Linked DNA regions of Homo sapiens: all the other regions are linked to region 1. Evidence: promoter capture Hi-C in 16 types of primary human blood cells and fetal thymus (Javierre and others, 2016). All regions are on one chromosome and are shown on one strand. Each heading gives the region's core, a stretch centred on a gene start or on the middle of the fragment in contact. The rest is flanking DNA. Distances are from core to core; before and after follow the strand shown.

What was found. Contacts are between HindIII fragments. The CHiCAGO score rates a contact against its expected background, and 5 or more counts as called.
Region 2: a contact is called between the fragment with the promoter of OR5T2 here and the fragment with the promoter of OR4C15 in region 1, in 8 of 17 cell types (activated CD4 T cells, neutrophils, M2 macrophages and 5 more). The highest score is 7.8, in activated CD4 T cells.
Region 3: a fragment that was not itself captured here is called in contact with the fragment with the promoter of OR4C15 in region 1 in 7 of 17 cell types (endothelial precursors, megakaryocytes, erythroblasts and 4 more); the score reaches 12.5 in endothelial precursors.
Region 4: the fragment with the promoter of OR8K5 here is called in contact with the fragment with the promoter of OR4C15 in region 1 in 12 of 17 cell types (total CD4 T cells, naive B cells, M2 macrophages and 9 more); the score reaches 9.6 in total CD4 T cells.

What each region holds. Positions count from the first base shown.
Region 1 is chr11:55,553,079-55,556,819 of GRCh38, forward strand. It overlaps OR4C15 (olfactory receptor family 4 subfamily C member 15), which reads left to right and starts at 1,391. Exons shown (of 1, transcript NM_001001920.3): 1 at 1,391-2,341. The coding sequence starts at 1,391. The coding sequence ends at 2,341. The HindIII fragment of the contact is 1,344 bases long and covers 59-1,402 here.
Region 2 is chr11:56,232,426-56,236,345 of GRCh38, forward strand. OR5T2 (olfactory receptor family 5 subfamily T member 2) reads right to left here and starts at 1,830. Exons shown (of 2, transcript NM_001004746.4): 1 at 1,752-1,830; 2 at 1-839. The coding sequence starts at 637. The HindIII fragment of the contact is 5,726 bases long and covers 1-3,920 here.
Region 3 is chr11:54,751,368-54,755,275 of GRCh38, forward strand. No RefSeq gene overlaps it. Among named protein-coding and RNA genes, the nearest start is that of OR4A5, 46 kb to the left of the region's middle. The HindIII fragment of the contact is 844 bases long and covers 1,043-1,886 here.
Region 4 is chr11:56,158,855-56,162,404 of GRCh38, forward strand. OR8K5 (olfactory receptor family 8 subfamily K member 5) reads right to left here and starts at 1,463. Exons shown (of 1, transcript NM_001004058.2): 1 at 540-1,463. The coding sequence starts at 1,463. The coding sequence ends at 540. The HindIII fragment of the contact is 6,274 bases long and covers 1-2,425 here.

The sequences.
Region 1 (3,741 bases), core at 141-2,640:
CTGCCTGTGGAAATGAAGTCAAAAGTTGGAGAGTAATTATCTAGATGACTCATGAAAAAGCTTTTTGTAGATAAGGTGGCTGACTTTTTAAGTGAGTAAATACAATTGGTAAGAGCACTTTATTATAAGTAAAATTTTCACATTTTCAAATCTGACCATCATCATAATCCTGAGACATGAGCAGGTAAGCTATATATAAACACCTCTGCTACACAATAATGCATATAAAGTTGAAATATACACTTCTTTTAGGAATTAAACTTCATTAGACCTGATTACTTTATATAAATAATTGGAAAATAATTAATAAAGCCTCAAGATTCCGGTTTATATTCAATATATTGTTTCTCTTCCTTACTTATGTGGTTGATGCCAATTTGTACATGCAAGTGTTTGTAGAAAGGCCATTCCTACTTTGAAGTTCTTACTGGAAAAGGAATATCCCCACTCCTTTCCCTGCTGATCTAGTGGAAAGGAATTGGGTGTTGGAGCCTGAGATTTTGTGTTAATATCCCAGATTGTCTGTTATTTGCTTAAACTTAACTTCTTTAAGCATGAGTTTCCCACCAATCAAATAGGAATAATAAGACCTAATGCAGACCATTCCCTAGGGCAGTCGGTCCTTAGCCTTCCATTGTTTCACCAGTTATCATAACAACATTCTGTTGTAGGCATTATTACTTTTATAATAATAATAAACTTCTGTTTTCATTTTAAAATGACAGATTTAAGAAAACACTCCGCACTTAATGCATACTTTTTATGTTTTAAATGTCAGGCTAGAGATTTTTCTAAAGATCTTTCTCTTTTGTAAAGAATGAATTCAGTTAAGACTTTTAAAGAAATATTTGAAGAGCAGCCATAATTTTTAAGTGCCTCTTGAACTATACGCTGTTTTCTTCTAGTTGCAGATAAAGCAGTCTCCCGATTAGGAATGGGATGCTGGTCATCCCTGCTCTCATTTGATGCCAATGGCAGAAATAAGTAATAAGTTACAATGCTCCTTCTCTCAAAATTTAGAGGTAACTTCAGAATACTTCTCAATAATTCACTCCAGGAAGCCACTAGTAAATGATCAAAGCTGGCACTTGATATGAAAACTCTTTCTCTTCTCTACCACATATCCTTCCCCCATATTGAACCTCTTGTTTCTTTCAAGTATTCTTTAAATTATCTCTATCACAATTCTGTCTGATATTTCAGTACTACCTTCAATAATTTCTAATTTATGTTCTCAATGACAACAGAAGCACTCAATAATTTTGCACTTGGATGTACCAACTTGTTAATGACTATGATACCACAAATTGATCTGAAGCAAATTTTCCTTTGTCCTAATTGCAGACTATACATGATCCCTGTTGGAGCTTTCATCTTTTCCTTGGGAAACATGCAAAACCAAAGCTTTGTAACTGAGTTTGTCCTCCTGGGACTTTCACAGAATCCAAATGTTCAGGAAATAGTATTTGTTGTATTTTTGTTTGTCTACATTGCAACTGTTGGGGGCAACATGCTAATTGTAGTAACCATTCTCAGCAGCCCTGCTCTTCTGGTGTCTCCTATGTACTTCTTCTTGGGCTTCCTGTCCTTCCTGGATGCGTGCTTCTCATCTGTCATCACCCCAAAGATGATTGTAGACTCCCTCTATGTGACAAAAACCATCTCTTTTGAAGGCTGCATGATGCAGCTCTTTGCTGAACACTTCTTTGCTGGGGTGGAGGTGATTGTCCTCACAGCCATGGCCTATGATCGTTATGTGGCCATTTGCAAGCCCTTGCATTACTCTTCTATCATGAACAGGAGGCTCTGTGGCATTCTGATGGGGGTAGCCTGGACAGGGGGCCTCTTGCATTCCATGATACAAATTCTTTTTACTTTCCAGCTTCCCTTTTGTGGCCCCAATGTCATCAATCACTTTATGTGTGACTTGTACCCGTTACTGGAGCTTGCCTGCACTGATACTCACATCTTTGGCCTCATGGTGGTCATCAACAGTGGGTTTATCTGCATCATAAACTTCTCCTTGTTGCTTGTCTCCTATGCTGTCATCTTGCTCTCTCTGAGAACACACAGTTCTGAAGGGCGCTGGAAAGCTCTCTCCACCTGTGGATCTCACATTGCTGTTGTGATTTTGTTCTTTGTCCCATGCATATTTGTATATACACGACCTCCATCTGCTTTTTCCCTTGACAAAATGGCGGCAATATTTTATATCATCTTAAATCCCTTGCTCAATCCTTTGATTTACACTTTCAGGAATAAGGAAGTAAAACAGGCCATGAGGAGAATATGGAACAGACTGATGGTGGTTTCTGATGAGAAAGAAAATATTAAACTTTAAAAAATCCAAAGTTAAGAGTAAAAAAGGTCAAAATGGCCTTAAATAAAAACTTAATGAGATACATCTTTCATGGCAAGAGATAAAGTAATGCTAGAAAAAAATCATTAATGTGGGATCAGAAAACTTATGTGTCCACCCTCAGAAAGCACAAATATGCACCTCCTCAGTCACCTATATAGGCCTAGTCTTACCCCGTGACTCCAAGGGCTCACAACCAACTGCATATTGCACCTCCACTCCCTTCCACCTCTGCAAACTAAGCAAGACATTCTCTCTTTTCTAGGACTAGTGGTTTATTTTAGGCTCTGGGTTCCCTCCTTCACTCTACTTGCCAAACCGTTATACCAGGCGGCTAAAGGCCCTCTCCATGAGCCTTTAAACCCCACACAGCCTATTACCCAACATTTCCATCCTCCAGAAGGCTCTCACATCAGCCCCCATTCTCACTCTCCCAGACCTCACCAAACCTTTCTCCCTCTATACCGCTAACCAGCATGGAGTTGCAGTAGGTGTTCTAACCCAGTCTAAGGGACCCATCTTCCAGGTTGTTGCCTACCTCTCTAATCAGCTTAAAGCTGCAGTTCATGGATGGCTTGCTTGTCTCTGAGCTTGGCAGCAGCTGCTGTCCTCACTCTTGAAAGCCTAAAATGATCTCTCCATGCCAACCTAACAGTCGATTCAACCTGAAACATCAAAGACATGTTAGCTCACTGCTGTGTACTAAGTCTCATCTCTGCCCCACAGCTCTTCCAACTGTATGCTCTATTCATAGAAACTCCCCACATTACCATGCTAACCAGCTCCCATCTAAACCCAGCCATGCTCTTACCTGAAGCTACAACCACCCAAGACCCTATACAATTCGGTGTGAATGCTGCTCTTACATTTTTCCAAACATAACAGACCAACACCTTCCAGATGCCTCCTTTACTTGGTTTGTAGATTACCCAGTCCTGCTCTGTCTGCTACTCAGTATCACCCCAAGGTTCCCTCCAGCCACAGCCTTTTCCTACCCACCAAGCCTGGGGCCTGGTATCCAGGCAAGATTGGCAAGTAGACTTCACTCACATACTGCCCAATAAATGGTTCTACTATCTTCTAGTCTTTGTCTGTACTTTCTTCGGGTTGGTAGAAGTGTTCCCAACAACTTCAGAACATGCAAATGTCATCACACAAACTCTCATCATGCATATAACTCCCCATTTTGAACTCCCAACATGCATCCAATCCAATAACAGGCCCGCCTTTTATCAGCCAAATTACCTAAGGCGTCTCTACACCCTTCAGGCCTCAATCTTCAGGCAAAGTTGGAAAGGTCAACTCTGTCCTTAATGCCCAACTCACCATGCTGGCCTTAGAAACCTGCTAGTCGTGGACAAAAAAAAAGTTCCCTTTTACCC
Region 2 (3,920 bases), core at 580-3,079, 680 kb after region 1:
GAACAATCAGGATAGTGACCAGCTCGATAGAGCCCACAAAGTAGAAGAGTAGAAGCTGGTTTGTGTGAGTGTCAGAATAAGAAATAGCAAGGAGAGGAGGGATATCACAAAAGACACGCCTAATTTCATTGGCTCCACAGAAGGATAGGCTAAATGTAGCCACTGTATGTATAGTAGCATGTAAAATGCCAGCAACATAGGAAGCATTGATGAGTGGCATGTAGACTCTGGGTGACATGCTCACTGAATACAGGAGAGGGTTGTAGATGGCTACATAGCGATCATAAGCCATTGCAGCCAAGAGAAAGCATTCTGTGGTTCCAAAACTACAAGCAAGAAACACCTGTGCTACACATCCAAGGAATGAAATGACTTTATTCTTTGTCGTAAAATCTACTAACATATTTGGGGTAATAACTGAGGAATAGCAGGCATCCACAGAAGACAACATACTCAGAAAATAGTACATGGGTTTGTGGAGCTGGGAATCCCTAATGACCACTAAAATCAGTCCTAAATTTCCCATGAGAGTGAAGAGGTAGATTGCTAGAAACAGGAAGAAGAAGATAGTCTGCAGTTCAAGATTGTCTGTGAAGCCCTTCAGTACAAATAAGGTAACTTCAGTGACATTCTTCATGTTGAAATCTAGAACAAACTTGAAGATATGCATAAAGTTACAGTTCATATTATGACAAAAAGAATGAACAACACCATGACTCAAGGGGATGTTAACTGTGCTCTTGTATATACTGTACGACATATATTCAGCAGTGCATAATTCTCTAGTAGTGAATCAGAAGACAGTGACAAACTGGTCAGCCATGTGTTCATGCCACTCACTGCAGAATCAAATGGAAGAAATGGACGTTCATTAGTTGGCTGGACTTATTCTGTTTCTAAAATCATCAGGTCTACTGGTTAATTTACCACTGAATTGTATTAAGCTGTTTATATATTAAATAATATTAAAACACACAAAAATGAGTGGCTTAAACAATCTTTGGGCATCCAAATACACAAGAGACTGTATCAGGGGACAGAGCATTGGAATACAATACCAGAATTTTAGAACTTGTAGCAATTGTGCAAAATGATTTGCTATATCTACTTGTCTATAGAATGAGAACATTAATAGTTTGTTCACAAGATTGGAGTAAATATTGAAGGAAAATTGCATTAATAAAATATAATATGTAAAATAATTTTGATTATAGAATATGCTGAATTAAGTTGGTTCTACATTCTATCAAGATTAAATCCAATGAACAGTTATGATTTTTTTCATCTGCTCATTCAAATGTCTCTGAATTATTCTTTGGAGAATGAAGAAGTTTTGTGAATTACTTGATCATTTTATGCCAAAAATAAACATGCAAATTACCATGATTCCATTTTCTACATTACAATTGTCTTAATTTTGCTTTGTGCAAATAAGATACTTCAACCAAATTTCTTGTGAGACAGGCATTTCTACTAGATGCCAAAATAAGTTATATTGGGTAAAAATTAAGTTAATATTAGCACATAGTCAAAGATTCAGAGTTATAAAGAGAAAATCACTATGATTCTTGAAGATTTAATAATATAGAATCAACTTTTTAAATTAATGCAAATCTATTTTTATGAAACAAATTTTAATGGAAGGGAGAAAACTTTAAATATCGTGAATGTAATAACGAAACACTAAGTTTGCTAAATAACAGGCATTTATTTAGCACTTGCTGCAAGAACAGACATTTCTTGTACATTACCTTATTTCACCTTTATAGCAACTTTCATAGCTAACAATTTCCAGAGCCAAGATTCAATCCCAGGTTTCTCTCATTGTACATGAAATTTTTGCATTTTTTCATGGCCTCATAAATGGCTTCATTCTGCAACTGGAACACTCTTCCTCTTACCCCTCTGCTGACCTCAGGGAAATAAAGGTAAAGCAAAACATGATTCTCGATGTATTTGTATTTTTTAAGCCATTAAATCTAGAGAAACATAAAATAAGTAGCAATCTGAAGTGACTTCTAGATTATAAAGCCAGAAAATAAATTTAAAATAAGTATTGATTGTTTTCCTTATTACTTCAAAATACAAGACCCCAGATAAATGAATAAGTCAAATGTTTTTTTGCCCTTTGTTGATATTTATTGGTAAATTCATGACCTTTGAACTATCTTTATCTATAAGAAAAATACAAGCATATACTCTATTAGGAGCACTCTTATTTATCTCTATAAGTACAAATACAATATTTTCTATTTTTTATTGTTTTCTAGTAAGTGTTGGATTTTAATTCTTAGGCATAACTCTAAATAAATCATATTTTGATGAATACACTTGATTCACATATGTAATAGTCCAGAACTGAAGTGTTTAGTTCTTGGTGTTTAGCAGCTAAAAAGTTTAGTAAAAAAAAACATAGTTATTCTTGATATTGTAGGTTCTAGCTGCCGAAATATTCTTCAAATTATCTGAAATTTTCTCTTACCTGTGGAACAGCAAATGCAGATTTAGGTATTCTATGAATATGGCTAACTTAGATTGTTTATATCTTTGTAATTGACTGTTGATGAAATCCAAGGAGATGTCCCAAGGGGAATATGCCCCAATTATCTTCTGTTTCAAAATAGCACCATGATGATTTACTTAATAATAAAAAGTAAATGATTCCGGAATAAGGCACTGCATGCTCCTACTTATTGAATCAATAGAGTTCTTTGGCTTCTGTTTAAAATGTGTCAGATTTGAATTTCCCTGATGACTACTGATGTTGAACATCTTTTCATACATCTGAAGGCCATTTGTATGTCTTCTTTGGAAAAAAAATGTATTCAAGTCCTTTGCCAGTTTTAAAATAAGATTATTGTTATTGTGGCTATTGAATTTATATATTTTGATATTAATCCCCTATTAGATATATCATTTACAAATATTTTTTGTTTGGCTGATGGTTTTCTTCATTGTGCAGAAGATTTTGACTTTGACGTAGCCCTACTTGTCTAATTTTGGTTTTGTTACTTGGCTTTTTATGTCATTGCTTGTATTTTTATGTTACATCCAACAAGTTACTGCCAAGCTGAAGGTCCTAAAGTTTTTCCTTATGTTTTCTTCTAGAAATTGTAGTTTCAGGTTTTATGTTTAAATTTTTAATCCATTTTGGGTTGGTTATTTTATATGGTATAAGACAAGGGTCCAATTTAATTTCCCATTGTGTATTCTTGGCACACTTGTGAAAGATCATTTGACTATATACATGTGGGATTGTTTCCAGGCTCCCTATTCTGTTCCGTTGGTCTATATATCTGTCCTTATTCCAGTCCCATGCTATTTAATTACTGTAGTTTTGTAATATCATTGAAATAAAAAAGTATAATACCTCTAGCTTTGTTTTTCTTTCTCAAGATTCCTTTGGCTATTTGAAGTCTTTTGTAATTGCACATAATTTTTACGATGTTTTTTCTATTTCTGTAAAACCCAGCACTAGGATTTTGCAGGAAATGCATTAAATCTGAAGACCCCTTTGGGTAATATGGAGATTTTAATTATTGCAGATCAAAACCACAATGAGATATCATCACACACCTGTTATGGCCATTATTTAAAAAAAAAAAGTATTGATAAGAATGTGGAGAAATTGGAACCCTGGTGTACTGTTGACAAGAATATAAAACAGTGCAGCCATGATTGAAAATAGTATGGAAGTTCCTTGAAACATTAAAAACAGGATTACTATACAATCCTGAAATTCTGAAACCACCTTCGCAAAATTATGACAGTAAGAGAAATCTGCCATGACTGACTTCTTCTTGCTTCTATCATCACAGGCTGTCTGTCTTTGCTCATCTCTGGGCATGGACCAAATAACTTCGGGAGAAATTTAGTTTATAGTTTAAATGATAATAGTCCTTTGCAAAAACTAAACCACC
Region 3 (3,908 bases), core at 215-2,714, 800 kb before region 1:
ATGGGTATTTGGGAGCTCATTGAGACCAATGGCAAAAAAGTGAATATCCCGAGGTATAAACTAGGAGGAAGCTATCTGAGAAACCACTTTATGATGTGTGCATTAATCTCACAGAGTTAAAACTTTCTTTTGATTCAGCAATTGGGAACCGCTGTTTCTGTAGGATCTACAAATGGACTTTTGGGTGCGTATTGAGGCATATGGTGAAAAAAAATCTTCAGATTAAAAGGAGGAATCAGCTTTCTGATAAACTGTTTTGTGCTGTGTGCGTTCAGCTCACACAGGTAAACCTTTGTTTTCATTCAGCAGTTTGGAAACACTGTTTTTGTGCAATCTGCAAAGCAATATTTGGGAGGGCATTGAGGCCTTTGGTGAAAAAGAAAATATCTTCATGTAAATACTAGAAAAACGGCTTTGTGATGTGTACATTCATCTCACAGTTAAACCTTCCTTTGATTCAGCAGTTTGGAAACACTGTTTTTCTCCATTCTACCAACGAACACTTTGGAGTGCTGGAGGCCTATCGTGTAAAAGGAAAATATCTTCAGATAAAAACTAGAATGAAACTATCTGAGAAACTCCTTTGAGATGTATGCATTCACCTGTCAGAGTTAAATCATTCTTTTCATTCAGCAGTTTGGAAACACTGTTTTTGTAGAACCTGTGAAGGGATATTTGAGAGCACGTCGAGGCATATGGTAAAAAAGAAAATATCTTCAGATAAAACATAGAAAGAAGCTTTCTGAGAAACTGCTTTGTGATGGGTGCATTAATCTCACAAAGTTAAACCTTTTATTGATTTAGCAATTTCGAAACACTGTTTTTGTCCATTCTGCAAATGTACTTTTCAGAGCTCATTGAGGCCAATGGCAAAAAAGCACATATGTCAGGAAAAAAACTGGCAGGAAGCTGTCTGTGAATCTGCTTTGTGATCTGTGCATTCATCACGTACAGTTAAACTTTTCTTTTGAATCAGCAGGTTGGAAACACTGCTTTTGTTGAATCTGAGAAGGGATATTCAGATAAAAACTAGAAAGAAGCTTTCTGAGAAACTGTTCTGTGACGTTTGTATTCATCTCACAGAGTTAAACATTTCTTTTGGTTCAGCAGTTTGAAAACACTGTTTTTGTCCATTCTGTGAGTGGACATTTGGGAGCTGATGGAGGCCAATGGCAAAAAAGTGAATATGCCAAGATGAAAACGAAATAAAGCTATCTGAGAAACTGCTTTGTGATATCTGCATTCATCTCACAAAGTTAAACTTCTCTTTTCATTCAGCTGTTTGGAAACATTGTTTTTGTAGAATCTGCGAAGGGATATTTGGGAATGCATTGTGGCCTGTTGTGAAAAAGAAAATGTCCTCTGATAATAACTAGAAAGAAGCTCTCTGAAAAACTGTTTGTGTTGTGTGCATTCATCTCACAGAATTAAGCCTTTCTTTTCATTCAGCAGTTTAAGAACCACTGTTTTTGTCCATTCTGTGAATGGATATTTGGGAGCTCATTGAGGCCAAAGGCAAAAAAGCAAATATCCCGAGATATAAACTAGAAGGAAACTATCTGAGAAACCATTTGTGATGTGTGACTTCATCTTGCAGATTTAAACCTTTCTTTTGATTAAGCAGTTTGGAAACACAGTTTTTGTACTTTGTGTGAATGGACACTTGGTAGCCCCTTGAGGCCCATGGTGCAAAAAAATACCTTCTTTTAAAAGAAGAAAGAGGCTTTCTGAGTAACTGCTTTGTGAAGTGTGCATTCAAATCACACAGTTAAACTTTCTTTTGACTCAGCAATTTGGAATGAACTGTTTTTCTACAATCTGCAAAGGTATGTTTGGGAGCACATTGAGACCTATGGTAAAAATGAAAATATCTTCAGAAAAAAGCTTGAAAGAAGCTTTCAGAGAAAATGCTTTTTGATGTGTGCATTCATCTCACAGAGTTAAAACTTTCTTTTGATTCAGCAGTTTGGAAGCACTGTTTTTGTCCATTTTGGGAATGGATATTTGGGAGCTCTTAGAGGCCAATGATGAAAAAGTGAATATCTCAGGATAAAAAGTTGAAGGAAGCTATCTGAGACAAGGCTTTGTGATATGTCCATTCATCTCATAGAGACAAACTTTTCTTTTCATTCAGTCATTTGGAAACACTGTTTTTTAGAAACTGCAAAGGAATATTTGGGAGCTCATTGAGGCCTGTGGTGAAAAAGAAAATGTCTTCAGATAAAAACTAGAAAGAAGCTTTCTGAGGAACTGCTTTGTGACGTGTGCATTAAACTCACACAGATAAAACTTTCTGTTTATTCAGCAGGTTGGAAACACTGTTTTTGTGGAATATGTGAAGGGATATTTGGGAGCACATTGAAGACTATTGTCAAAAAACATATATCCTCAGATAAAAACTAGAAAGGAGCTTTCTGAGAAACCAATTTCTGATATGTGCATTCATCTCACAGAGTTAAACCTTCCTTTTGATTCTGCAGTTTGGAAATGGTGTTTTGTACATTCTTCAATTGGACATCTTTGAGAGCATTGAAGCCTATGGTGAAAAAGAAAATATTTTCTGAGAAAAATTAGAAAGAAGCTTTCTGAGAAACTGCTTTGTGATATGTGCATTCATCTCACAGAGGTAAACCTTTCTTTTGATTCAGAAGTTTGGAAAAACTTTGCTGTAGAATCTGAAAAGGACATTTGGAGCACAGTGAGGCCTATGGTGAAAAAGAAAATACCTTCAGATAAAAACTTGAAAGAAGTTTCTGAGAAACTGCTTTGTGATGTGTGCATTTATGTCACAGGGTTAAACTTGGTTTTGATTCAGCAATTTGGAAACAGTGTTTTTGAAGAATCTGTGAATGGACAATTGGGAGCCCATTGAGGCCTATCTTGAAAAAGAAAAATCTTCAGATAAAAAGTAGAAAGAAGCTTTCTGAGAAACTGCTTCATGATGTGTGCATTTATCTCACAGTGTTAAACCTTTCTCCTGATTCCACACATTGGAAACATTGTGTTTGTAGAATCTGCAAATGGACATTTGTGAGCTCTTTGAGGCCAAAGTCAAAAAAGCGAATATTGCAGGGTGAAAAGTAGAAGGAAGCTATCCAAGAAACCAGTTTATGATGTGTGCATTCATATCACAGAGTTCAACTTTTCTCTTGATTCAGCTGTTTGGAAACACTGCTTTTCTAGAATCTGTGAAAGGACACTAGGGAGCCAGCTGAGGCCTATGGTGAAAAAGAAAATATCATCAGATAAAAACTAGAAAGAAGCTTTCTGAGAAACTGCTTTGTGATGTGTGCATTCATCTCTCACAGTTCAAACTTTGTTTTGATTCCGGAATTTGGAAACACTGTTTTTGTACATTCTGCAAATGGATATTTGGGAGCTAATTGGATCCAATGCAAAAAAATGAATATCCAAAGATAAAAACTAGAAGGAATCTATGTGAGAAACTCCTTTGTGACGTGTTTATTCATCTCACAGAGTTAAATCTTTCTTTTGACTCAGTAGTTTGGAAACACTGATTTTTAAATTCTGTGAAAGGATATTTTGGAGTGTCTCAAGGCCTATGGTGAAAAAGTAAATATCTTCTGATAAAAAGTAGAAAGAAGCTTTATGAGAAACTGCTGTGTAATGTGTGTTTTCATCTTATAGTGTTCAACCATTCTTATGATTCAGGAATTTATAAACACAGTTTTTGCCCATTCTGCAATTGGACATTTCGAAGCTCATTGAAGCCAATGGCAAAAGAGTGAATATCCCATGATAAAAAATAGTAAAAAGCTATCTGAGAAAATGCTTTGTGATGTTTCCATTCATATCTAGAGTTAAAGGATTCTTTTGATTCAGCAGTTTTGAATCACATTTTCTGTACTATTTGCAAAAGCATATTTGGAGTGTCTTGAAGCCTATGG
Region 4 (3,550 bases), core at 213-2,712, 610 kb after region 1:
TCTTTATCTATATATATGTGTGTGTGTGTGTATATATATATATATGTATATATATATATGATGGAATACTACTCACTTATAAAAAGGAACAAAATAATGGCATTCACAGCAACCTGGATGGAGCTGGAGACCTTTATTCTAAGTGAAGTAACTCAGGAATGGAAAACCAAATATCATATGTTCTCACTTATAAGTGGGAGCTAAACTATGAGGATACAAATAGGTAAGAATGACATAATGTATTTTGGGGACACAGGGAAAAGTGTGCAGTGTGGGCGAGGGATAAAAGGCTACACATTGAGTACAGTGTACACTGCTCAGGTGATGAGTGCACCAAAACCTCAGAAATTACCCCAATGAACTTATTCACATAACCAGAAACCTCCTACTTCCCAAAAATTATTGAAATAAAAAACAATTAAAAAAATTTGAAAATTGGAAAATTTATATACACATGAAAAATTATCAAGTGACATTAATCTATATTATATATTTATTATAACAATATTACAAATTGATTATTAAACACAAAGTTGACATCAATTCTCAAAGAGCTTATAGAAGGCATTTTTCACCTCTTCGTTTCTTAAGCTGTAAATCAAAGGGTTAAGCATGGGGATTACTAAAGTGTAAAACACAGAAGCCATTTTATCAGTATCAAAGAAGTGAGTGGAATTGGGCTGCATGTACATGAAGAGTAGAGACCCATAGAACACAACCACCACTGTCAAATGGGAACCACATGTGGAGAAAGCCTTTTTCCTGCCCTCTGCAGAATGCATTTGACATATAGCTAACAAAATCAACATGTAGGACACTAAGACTATCAGAAAGGAGGAGATCAAATTAAATACAGAAAATAGTATGCTCAACAATTCTATTTCCTGTGCATTTGAGCAAAGCATAGGTAGCAAAGGAACATCATCACAGTAAAAATGACTGATGACATTAGAGCCACAGAAGGTCAATGTAAAAATCTTAATAGTGAACATCAGAGCCTGAAATGTGCTGTAGAGATATTGAATGCCCACCAGTACATGACACAGTCGCTGAGACATAATAACATAATAGAGCAGAGGGTTACAAATGGCCACATAGCGGTCATAGGCCATGGCTGACAGGATGAAAAATTCACTGATAATGAACATAAGGAAGAATGCCAGCTGTGCAGCACATGCATAATAGGAAATAGTATTTCGATCCACAACAAAATTTGCCAGCACCTTGGGACAAATGACAGTAGAATTACCAAGATCAACAAAAGCCAAATGTCTGATAGAAAAGTACATAGGTGTATGTAAGTGGGAGTCCAGTTTGGTCAAAATGATCATAGTTAGGTTGCCCACCACTGTGATTAGGTAGATGACGAGGAAGACTCCAAAAAGGGGAATCTGCAGCTCAGGCCGCCTTGTGAGTTCCATCAGAATGAATTCAGTTAGCACTGTTAGATTGTGTTGGCCCATTTAGTCCAGTTATCTCTTCTAGGAAGAAACAGTTGGGTTATTAGCTGTTCCATGTAGTGCTATTTAAACAAATTATAATATTTGTAGACAGAATAGATTGTTATTCACAATAGATAATAGAAACATTATTTCTACATTTGATTCAGAAATGAAATATAAAGCAAAATTTTCTACTTTCCTAAAAGAGGAATTCATGTAAAATACATGCACTGAAACAACATAGATTAAATAGTTTCATCAATATTTGAAGTATATCGGTTAATAACACAGCCATATAGGTATTATTACAAAAAGATTATGCTCTTTTCATCTGCACAATGGTATCATGATTTTCTTTTGTTCACTTCCACTTTTGTTGTAAAACTTTTCTGTAATTTTGATATTCTCAAAGACAGAGGTAGAGATGGCAATAAGATAATGAAGGTTAAGATTTGGGGTCCCTCATTTGCACTTCCAGGGTCTTGTGTGGGGACTTACGAATGCACGCAAAAATGATATATCTTTGTAAAATTTCAAATGTAAGATATAATAATCATGATCAATTAAGGCTGCTTTCTGTTTTCATTCCAACTTCTAGTATATCACACTTCAACTAATATCATAGTGACTTGACATTTCTGCAAGCATTGTGGGATCTAGCTAAAGAAGGATTGAGTTAATAATAGTTTATTTGATGTTCAATGGATATGTTTATATCATTCAGACACTATGATATTTATCACTGAATAATACTACCTATTCTGACTTAAGAATGTCTTCTAAGGATACTCTTGCCACCTGTATGCTGAGATGCATTTGGCATTTGATTAATTAACATACTATATTAATAAATTTTATATAGTTTGTGGCCATGGGTTTGTTTACTAATTACAATTTAAAGCTAATTTTCTATTCTAAATAAATATTCCCATTTATCTTTCAACTTGTATGTGTAATTTTATCTAAAAAGTCAAATTCTTCTAAGCTTCAAGACACATAATCTGGATCCACTTCTGCAAAAACATGATTTAAATCAATATTCAGTGATGACTATTTAATTATATGTACTTTATTTTCTGTAATAAAACACTGTGAAGATGGTAGGTTCTATAAATCATTTAAATAATTTGAGAATTTAGGACATCATATATTAGTGAATGACTTTTTTTCTGGAATTGTACAGTGGAGTATTCATGGAGATATAATACTGTAATTAAAACTATTTCAATGAAAAGTACTTCTCCCTTTATTTAAAAAATACACGGGAAGTCAATAAAAGAAAGTGGAACGTCCCTGATACAGATAGTGAAGATGTCTTAGCCTATTCCACTTAAATTCCCCTCTCCTTCAGTTTCCACTCATTGAAAATCTGGAACTCTGTGAGAGTGACTTTCAATTGGAATAGTAACGGAATTTTCCACAGATCTAATGTAGAATAGATTTATTATAATGTAATGGAATGTCAGCTTTAGCCTGCACATCCCTCAGGTAGAAAACTCTGAAAACCCACCTAAAGATCCAAAACTACAGTTTGGAGCAGGTGCAGTCCACAGCCACACTGTGGCATTTGGCAACACTTCTAGGTATCTGCTCATTAGTGGGAGACATTTTGCCAACTTCATCTATGGACTACAGATGTGGGAAGGGGGCAACAGTGGAGGTTAGTGACCCTCTTCCATTCCTTCTCCCTAAATGAAGCTGTCTGCTGTTTCTCCATTGAACTTCACCCCTCTTTTAGGTCTTTCTTTTCCCACAGATAAGAACCATGACTATTCTATTTCTAAAACTTTATCTTAAATTTGCAGTATTGCAGGAATTGCTCACATAGGGTTTTATGGTAGAATAGAAGATGCACTGAATTGCAAAGGAAATTCAGAATTCCAACATCAATCCCACCAATCTGAAGTCAATACTTTGCTTAAAATGGTTTTAGTTTTTATTCAGTCTATTTCCATTGTCACTGTCAATTATTATCTCCCTCTGAAGATTTCTCAATTTTGTATCCTACCTGTTTTTCTTATGGAAAAAAGTATATTTCTAACGTATTTGAATAATTATGCATACATTTTAAATACCCTTGTTTAGGGATAACCAATAGAAAAGACAGG